Regions from separate parts of the Homo sapiens genome. Here region 2 is linked to region 1. The links are contacts of gene promoters, found by promoter capture Hi-C in human tissues and cell types (Jung and others, 2019). All regions are on one chromosome and are shown on one strand. The core of a region is centred on a gene start or on the middle of the fragment in contact, and the rest is flanking DNA. Distances in the headings are between cores, read along the strand shown.

Region 1 (4,605 bases), core at 916-3,415:
ATGTCTCAGGTTAAACGTCCTTTTCTCCCAGAGACCTTTATAGACCTCCATGCAAAAATAGGTAGCCCCAGTGATTCTCTCTCATACACTTTGCTCTTTTATTTCATAGTACACATCTCAGCTTGTAGCTGGATATTTGTGTTCATTTTTTCAGTGTCTGTCTTTCTCATTGGTCTGTAATCTCCATGAGGGTAGGACCCATGGGCTTTGTTTAGTTATAAGCCTTAGCAATTATCACATAGCCTGGCACATGGTAGGTACTCACTAAATCCATAACGAATGGATGACTTTTAGTGCTGTCTGCTTACTATCCTTCAATAGCCATACATTTGGACTCCAGGCAAGTTCTTGCTCAAAGGTGGCTGACAAGTCATTCTAGCTCCTGCAAACAACAGCTTTTACATTAGGATGCTGGGGAAACCACTAACCAGTCCAACAAAGCACAAGAATAAAATTGATCCCACCAATCCTCTCAGACACAACTATTAATACTCTCTATTGCCTATTTCACACCCCTCCTTGTAAGAATGAAACAGGGAGGAAATGCACTGGGCTCTCAGAGCTATAAGACTCAACAAGCTGCCAAGTTGGGTTAGACACCCAGGTGGGAGAAGGAGTAAAGCAGCTAGCCTATGTAACCTTGGCAAGATGACTGCTCAGATGCCACTGGTGCATAGATAGATGACTGGCTTCCCAGGGGAATGTCAACAACTGACACCCACACTGTGGTCTCCCACATGTGAATACGTCAATGTTTACTTAACCATTCCCTTATTTCAACACACGTTGAATGAAAGTCTACTATGTGTCTGTTACTGTGTGCCACAAAGGTAACAAAGTCACTGCTCTTGCTGTCAAGACATTTAAAAGGAAGTACTTGACAGACAATTATGAAAACAAACTATTATGCAGGATAAAAATACAGTCTACACACAGGAGCAGAGAGGACAAAGGATAAGGGGGACCTAATCCTGTGGAAGGTTTCACTGAGAAGGCAGCACAGAACTAACTTGATGCGGAAGGTAGGCGCCTTCTGGACCAACAAGGCAGGGAGTGCATTCCAGGTGAGAGAAACATGGACATGGGCACTGGAGGGAGATTTGGGTTTTTAAGTTCTCGGAATGTGGAGTGCAAGTGGGAAGTGCTGGAAGTACAACACGGACGGAAAAGCCAACCTGACTTAGATCACATAGGACCTTGCAAAGGAGCTTAGCAAATAACCTACTGGCAATGGTCAGCCACTGAAGCATTTACAGGCCCAAGAGCAGCATTACGTTTGCCTTAATTCATTGTGTTGGCAGTGAGAAGATAGAGTGGAGGAAGACTAGACACAGGTAAGGAACCCTCTCCCCATCTCCCCTACTCCCTCCCGCTGGCAGAAGAGGCTACGCAGTGGTTGAGGGAAAGGTAAGTACCAGAACCAGGGCAGAGGCAGTGCAAATGTGTGATCTAGTACAGACACGTAGGACCTTACAACGTATACCATGATCTTAGGGTGGAGGTAGGTGTGAGGGATGACTGCAGATAGAGCTCTTCTCTTTGCCTTGGACAACTGGCCAGTTTTACCAAGCTGGAACAGAGATGGTGGTAGGAGAGGGGTCCTAAAGGAAAACATGAATGCGCTTTTCATAAGTGGATTGTGAGGAGTTCGCAGGACTTCCAGCTGAAATTGTCCCCTAGGGAGCTGAATGATAGGGGTCTGGGGGTTTTGAGCTGGATCCAGGTTAGAGACACGGATTTGTGGCGTCATCAGCGTGGATGAGACTGCGCAAAGTTGAATGGGAAAATGGCAAACCTAGAAAACAACAAATATCACAGTGCGATACCAGTGTCAGCTTTACGGCTTTTCTCCGTCCTCAGCTTGGAATGAGGAACATCTTTCATTTCACAAGAGGTTCAGGAACTACCAGTGTGAAAAGAGGCTACGTTCAAGCTGCTGGAGGGCCAGTTCCACCTAGGCGCAGTCAAGAAGGGCGCCTGGCTTTCCGGCTTCACGTCCCTGGAAGCTCGGCACTGCAGCGGTTCTAGATCTGGGGCCGCCGGCTGCCTTCCCGACCTACCTCGCTGACTGGGCACCGCCCTTAACGTCACGATCCCGCCCCCGCCAGCGCTCCGACCACAACCCGCGGGAGCCATTGCGTTTGACGTCATCATCGCGCGCCATCTCTTCCCTTAGGTGTTTAAGTTCCGCGCGCAGGCCAGGCTGCAACCTGACGGCCAGATCCCTCGCTGTCCTAGTCGCTGCTCCTTGGAGTCATGTTCCCAGCCGCCCCTTCTCCGCGGACCCCGGGTACCGGGTCCCGAAGGGGCCCGCTGGCCGGACTCGGGCCCGGCTCCACGCCCCGGACGGCTAGCAGGAAGGGTCTGCCCCTGGGGTCTGCAGTCAGCTCCCCAGTGCTCTTCTCGCCGGTCGGCCGGCGTAGCTCGCTAAGCTCGCGGTAAGTGATCTCCCTGGTTGGGTCTGGCAACCAACAGCCTCACGGGCCGCAGTGGGCCGGATAGGTTGTTGTCTTTAGAAGCCTTTGGAACCGGGGCGGCGGAATAGAATGCCACAGTATTGGAAAATAGACCTTTTCCACTGCTGCAGGTAGTATCTGCTTCGTTTTGATTATCAGTTGATCAGTTGATTCCCCACTTTGCATTTTTCATGGATACCTTTGTGCAGAAGTGAAGTACAAACTGGATTTGCATCAGTGTTTACCTACTTCCCACCTACTACCCGTGTGATCTGGTGTAAGTCACTCGTGATTTTCTTCATCTGTGAAATGGCGATAATATATCTCACCTGAGCCAGAGGAGTTATTATGAATTGCCACGATGCAGATGTAAGGTGATGGTGATAATGAGGACCTACAACCCTGAAAGATCATTGTTTAATGCCTAACATACCAACTGACATTAATATCTGATGATTGGTAATTAAAGGGTTTCTAGCTACGGAATTTAACTTTCTAGGTAAATTATAAGGAAAAGGCTTTACATAAGTGAGCTAAGAGTACTGTGATAGTTTAGTTACTAAAACTGCTCGTTTGGAGCACCAGTAAAATCATCACACACACACACCCCTCCCCACCCCCAACACACACCATGTTCATAATTAACCTAAAACTTTAGTGTTTCTGCATAGTTTTCTCTGAATTCATCTATAAAAAATGAATTTTTCCCTGCAGGAAACACAAAGTATTGTGTCTTGAAATTATGGTTAAAATTTATCTGTAAAATTTTTCAGTACTTTAAAGGAGAAGTGGTTTTGAAAGAATACACTGTATCTTTGACTTTTTTTGGCATATTTTGAAAAGTTCTTTTCAAAGTGCTGATCTTGTCAGTGTTTTCTATTCCTTTTGCGAAAAGTTGGAGAATAAAAGCATACTTTATTTACTGTGTGTTGTTTTATTTAAATCTCTTCTTGTGATCATTTGAAGAAAAACCTTTGTTATCCTCTGTCAGGAAACAAAGCCCTTAGCCCTTCTGTATGTGCATCTTCTCATTTAATTCTCGTGATAAGACATAGACTACCTTTTATTCTGGTGACTTTACAATATTCTAAATGTTAAGAGGGTGAGCAAGAAATAAAGTTTTTACTGTGATATCTGCTGTTGAGGACCATGTAACAGCTGATGCTCGTAACCTGTTCGATTTCTTGCTTGGTTGTACAGATCTGATAGTTTTTTTTTTTTTTTTTTTAAAGAGACAGGGTCTCACTCTCTGTCGCCCAGGCTACAGGCTGGTGCCACAATGCCCGGCTAATTTAAAATTTTTTTTGTAGAGACAAGGTCTTGCCACGTTCCCCAGGCTGGTCTTGAACTCCTGGTCTCAAGCAGTCTTCCCGCTTCGGCCTCCCAAAGTGCTGAGATTATAGACATGAGCCACTGCTCCGGCCAGGTCTGGTGGACTCTTAAGCACCTAAAGCTAGATGAGCTTAAATCTCATCTAAGCCAATATTTATAAAATGTATTTGACCACAACATATGGTAAAAGCTGATGTTTTATATTCTGTCTTTCAAAAATGTTGAGATCTGCAAAATGACCCGCTGTTTGAAAAAAAAAAAAAAAAAACACTGGTCTAGTTAAGCCTTATTTCACAGCTAAGGAGGCAGAATTATAAGGAGTTTAAGTGAATACAGGCATGCATTTCAATACTAGAGTCTATGGGATTGAAGCCAAGTTTTCCTAAATCCTGTTTTGTTTTTTTTTTACATGAAAAATATTACATTTAATTACATGGTAAATATGAGCCAGTGTTAATTTTTTTCAAAGAACTCCTTACTGTGAAAATATATACATAAAAAATTAGGATAATGGAGAATTTTAAGTTACAAGTAAGGTAATATAGACTCTTTTCTTTAGGGGAACACCAACACGAATGTTCCCACACCACTCCATAACTGAGTCTGTGAACTATGATGTGAAAACGTTTGGATCTTCTCTTCCTGTTAAAGTCATGGAAGCCCTAACATTGGCTGAAGGTAGGTGTCATCTTTCCATTTACCTATATTAGCAGTTTAAAATGGAGCCTAGATGTGGCATAGAGATTAAATTTATGTTTTCTCTAGTATACCTTTACGTAAATGGTGAGAGATGGGTGGCCTGTCTAGTGTTTTTTTA
Region 2 (4,605 bases), core at 1,575-4,074, 210 kb after region 1:
AGAGTATAAATTCTTTCAGTTAGAACATCCAACTTTAACTTATGGGTTCTTCTCCTTCTCTTTTTTTTTTTTCTGAGACAGTTCTCACTTTATCGCCCAGGCTGGAGTGCAGTGGTATGATCTTGGCTTACTGCAACCTCCGCCTCCCAGGCTCAAGCAATTCTCCTAAGTTTCATGAGTAGCTGGGACTACAGGTGCACGCCACCACGCCTGGCTAATTTTTTGTATTTTGTAGAGATGATGTTTCACCATGATGCCTAGGCTGGTCTCGAACTCCTGAACTAAAGCAACTGGCCCACCTCAGCCTCCCAAAGTGCTGGAATTAGAGCCACTGCACCCGGCTGGGATCCCCTCTTTTTCATACTGCAGCTTCCCAAAGCTTTAACAGGCCTCTGCACTTGAGCTTGCCAGGAACTCAGGGCAGGGAGGTGTCCAAACCCACCTGTGTGCTCTCCTAACAACCACACTCCTGAGCGTTCGGGGCCTGTGCGCGCCGCGGTGACCTCAGCTGTCTCAAGGCAGCATCTCCGTACTGAATACCTGAGCCCATTCTTTCTGGGTCCAGCTCACCTAAGGACCAAGCAAGTCTTCTTTTAAAAAAGGCTTTTATGTTTCTTTGATTCCAAAAATAGATTAAAAAAAAAAAAAGCAAAGTACAGAACACTGTGTATATATCCCACCATTCTGAATAAAGGGAAAAAACTATATATATGTTTGCTTGCACCGGCACAAAACATCTCTAGCAGGATACATAAGGAACGGCTGATTCGGAGGAGTTCTAGATGGCTGAGGACAGGAGGGGGTGGTAACAGGGGGACTTTTCATTGCATACTCTTTTATACTTCTTGAATTTCAAATTATGTGAATACATTATTTATATAAAATAATTTAAAATTAAATTACAAAGATATAATTTTTCACTTATTAGATGGGCCAAAAGTCCAAGTATGATGATACTACATGCTGTGGACATGGCTTTAGTGAAATAAGCCCATCACTAGGAGAAAATGTGACAGCCTCTACACCAAGATCCCAAATGCTTATGTTCTCTGACCCAGCAATTCCACTTCTGGGCATTTGTCTGACACACAGACTCATGCACATGTAAAAAAAAAAAAAAAATATATATATATATATATATATATATATATATATATATATATATATATATATAATTATTTACTGTAACATTACTTATAATAGCAAAATACTGGCAACAACCCAAATGTCCAAAGTAGACTGGCTCATGAATTATGGTAACACATAGGTTGAGCGGTCCTTATCCAAATATAGGTTGAGCAGTCCTTATCCAAAATACTTGAAACCAGAAGTATTTTGGATTTTTTCAGATTTTGAAATATTTCCATTATACTTACCAGTTCAGCATCCCTAATCTGAAAATCTGAAATTTGAAGTGCTCCAATGAGCATTTCCTTTCAGTGGCAATGTTGGCAATTAAAAAGTTTCAGATTTTGGAACATTTTGGATTAGGGATACTCAACCCATATTACACATTACACACACACATTATGTATGACATTATGTTATATATATGTACCTTATGTATTATATGTATATACGGAAACTATAAGCTGATTTGTAATGATTTGTAGGTTATACAATAGTAAGTAAAAAAGCAAGGCGTGGTAGTCTATCATATGATACATTTTATATAAAAAAAGGGAAGAAAACAATGGTTTCTGAATGTATTACCCATTAAAAAAATAAAAAGTACTGCTGAAGAATCCTAATTTATACTCTTATATTTTTTTCACCTAGAGGTACTTATGATTTTGATGATCTCAGAAAAAAACACATCTTGGAAGACTGCATATGAGTTGTTCTATCTGATGCATTCAGGGATACAATATTAAAATAGCAAGGTCATGTAAATACAACCTCATGCTGAGCTTAATAATACTCAACAGTAAGCCAACTGTAAGGATTTATGTAACAGTGTCTTGGTTTTTGTACCAAGCTTAGTAATTTTTTTTTCTTTCTGATAAAAAAAAATACAAAAAGATGACATGTCCACTTCTGTTGAAACCCAGCCCTTCTACCTGGGCCCGACTCTCCTCCCTCCTACTTCACCTAGCACCCTCCTTCTTCCCTGCCCTCTCCTTGCCCATTCTTCTCTCCTTCCCCCTCAGCATTTAAACATGCTGGAATTTCTCCCATCACCCACAACCCCAGCTTTAAATTAACCCTTTGCACCCTACAGTGCCAGCCTGTGCTTCCTCAGGAGAGGAGTGGACACTCTGCTTGCTCACCTCCTACTTCTTCCTAACGGACGGCCAGCCATCTTCTACCTTCATAATTCTGCTGAAATTGTTCTTGATCAAAATGATCACTGACTTTCTATTCCCCATCCCAATGTGTGTTTTTCAGCTCAGTCTTAGCTTATGAGGCTTCCCTCTGTTACTATTACATTACATAATGAACACTCCTTTGATTTGCTTATAATTAGGGCTTAAGTGACACCCACATTCCCTTGATTTTCTTCACACATTTCCGACCATTTCCTTTTTCATCTTTTTTGTAGATTCCTCTTCCTCTGCTCATCCTCCAACTCCAGGGTTCTGTTGATCACTGCTCTCCTTAAACACTGTTCTCCGGACGATCACATTGCTTCCACAGTTTTAGCTGTTCCTATATATTGATGGTTCCCAAACTTATACTGCCAGCCAGGAACTCTTCCCCAAGCTTACTAGATAACTCCATGTTCATGTCTCAGCGTTACCGCAAAGGCCGCACATTTGCAACAGAGCCATCTTTACTCCCTCACATTCCCTGCTTCTCCTCTGGCTCCACCCCATCTCTGTCTAGAGACACCAGTGTGACAGCTGCGAGTCATCCTTGGTTCCTCCTCCCCTGCTGGCCCTTCCTCCTCACCTTGTCCCACCTAAGAGTCAGTTGTCCTGTCCCACTATTGGGCATATGAGTCATAAGATGCTACTGCCTAAATATATCTTAGATCCATCTCTCTCTCCATCTCTGCTTCCATATCCTTGTTAAAGCATTAATCAGTCATCTCTTACTAGGATTACTCAAAAATGCCTTATAATTGGTATCCTGGCCTCCAGGCCTGTCCTCCCTTCAGTTTGTTTTCAACATAACCTCCTACATACATGACTTATCTCAAGTCACAACCCAATCACATCACCCACCTGCTGACAACCCACCACCTACAGCAGTGGTTCTCAATCTTGGATGAACATTAGAACAGCATGAGTAAACATTTAAAAACACTGGTGCCTCGACCATACTTCAGCCCAATTAGTTCAGCGTCTCCAGAGGCAGAGCCTGGGATTAGAACTTTTAATGCATCTCAGTGTCTCTAGTGCTCATCCAGGGTTGACAATTGGTAATCTACAAGATAAAGTTCTAGATCCTTGATGAGGACTGGCTGGCTCCTGCCTTTCTTCAACCTTTTCTCCTGCTATTCCCTCTTCCTCACTCCCTTTGCTGGCTCACTCTTCCTTATATTCTGAAAGACTGAGCTCATCTAAGACCTCCCCTGAAAGCCCTCCCTGACACCTCCTCTATCCTCTGGCTGGGGCAGGTCCCCTTCTTCACGTTACCCTGAGCCTGTGCATCTCTCAGCTACTACATCAGCCTTGTGATATTATAATTATCCTCTGACTGTCTCCCATGAAAGACAGTTTCTTGGGGGGCAAGGGGTGTGATTTATTCATTTTTGTATCCCAGCATCTGACAAATAGGCACTCAGATGTTTGAATGAATCAATTAAAAGGTGATGCCCATATATAGTTACTTTAGTAAATGACAACTACACAGTATTTCGTCAGCTGCCTACATTAGGATTATTTTAAATTATTTTAATAAGCAAATACAAAAATGAGGCATTTTATAATTGAGGCATGCTCAGTAAGCTTCAGAAATAAAATTACTCTGGACTCCATAGTTCCATGATGCCCGATCTGCAACAATCAACACTATACCATGTACCTATAACTCCCTTACACATGACCACTGGCCCAACAGAATTAGCGTGCTGTTGACAGAGTGGACAAAGGCCTATTCTTCCTCCGTTTAGTGAAGGACCAAAGAAAGACTATGGTTCTAAATGCAAACACTCCCTGAAACCTTGACTACCTTTCCACAGCTGAGCTGGTGTGCCCATCCACTTTCATCACCATGGAAACCATCCTGATAAGGATGGGGCTTTCATCCTGATAAGAACAGGACCTTTGAACCCATATGTGATGATTTTAGGTTGGCAGGTAGAGAGAGAACATTCTTTACTAAATCACCCTGAAACTATTAATTAAAAGGTGATCTACTGAGCTACAGTGTAAAATATGCAGAAGAAAAGTTGCTTAATGGAAAGGCTTTTACCTGATTCGATTTTGTTAAGTATTTTTCTTGCACACTGTACAAAAGCCTCTTCTACATTCTCCCCTGTGAGCGCACTTGTTTCCAAAAACATCAGCTCTAAAATGGACATCAAACAAAATAAAGTCATGTTTAGAAGATGATCATAATTTTCACTTACAAAAGCCTGTGTAGCATTCTCTTAGAAAAGCAGACGAAATATAATTTATGACCTAAAACCATATATTTCTGTAAATATAAAATCAATAT

The links. Contacts are between HindIII fragments. The study calls those that stand out against the background at their distance.
Region 2: a fragment that was not itself captured here is called in contact with the fragment with the promoter of NUP133 in region 1 in 1 of the 25 tissues and cell types used here (spleen).

What each region holds. Positions count from the first base shown.
Region 1 is chr1:229,505,901-229,510,505 of GRCh38, reverse strand. NUP133 (nucleoporin 133) reads left to right here and starts at 2,165. Exons shown (of 26, transcript NM_018230.3): 1 at 2,165-2,438; 2 at 4,348-4,466. The coding sequence starts at 2,257. It overlaps NUP133-DT (NUP133 divergent transcript), which reads right to left and starts at 2,076. Exons shown (of 3, transcript NR_110630.1): 1 at 1,827-2,076; 2 at 266-382. RefSeq lists silencers at 1,010-1,304, 2,245-2,474 and an enhancer at 2,075-2,194. The HindIII fragment of the contact is 14,911 bases long and covers 1-4,605 here.
Region 2 is chr1:229,298,827-229,303,431 of GRCh38, reverse strand. RAB4A (RAB4A, member RAS oncogene family) reads right to left here. Exons shown (of 8, transcript NM_004578.4): 6 at 4,360-4,455; 7 at 443-570. The coding sequence ends at 455. Among named protein-coding and RNA genes, the nearest start is that of RAB4A-AS1, 30 kb to the right of the region's middle. The HindIII fragment of the contact is 5,464 bases long and covers 93-4,605 here.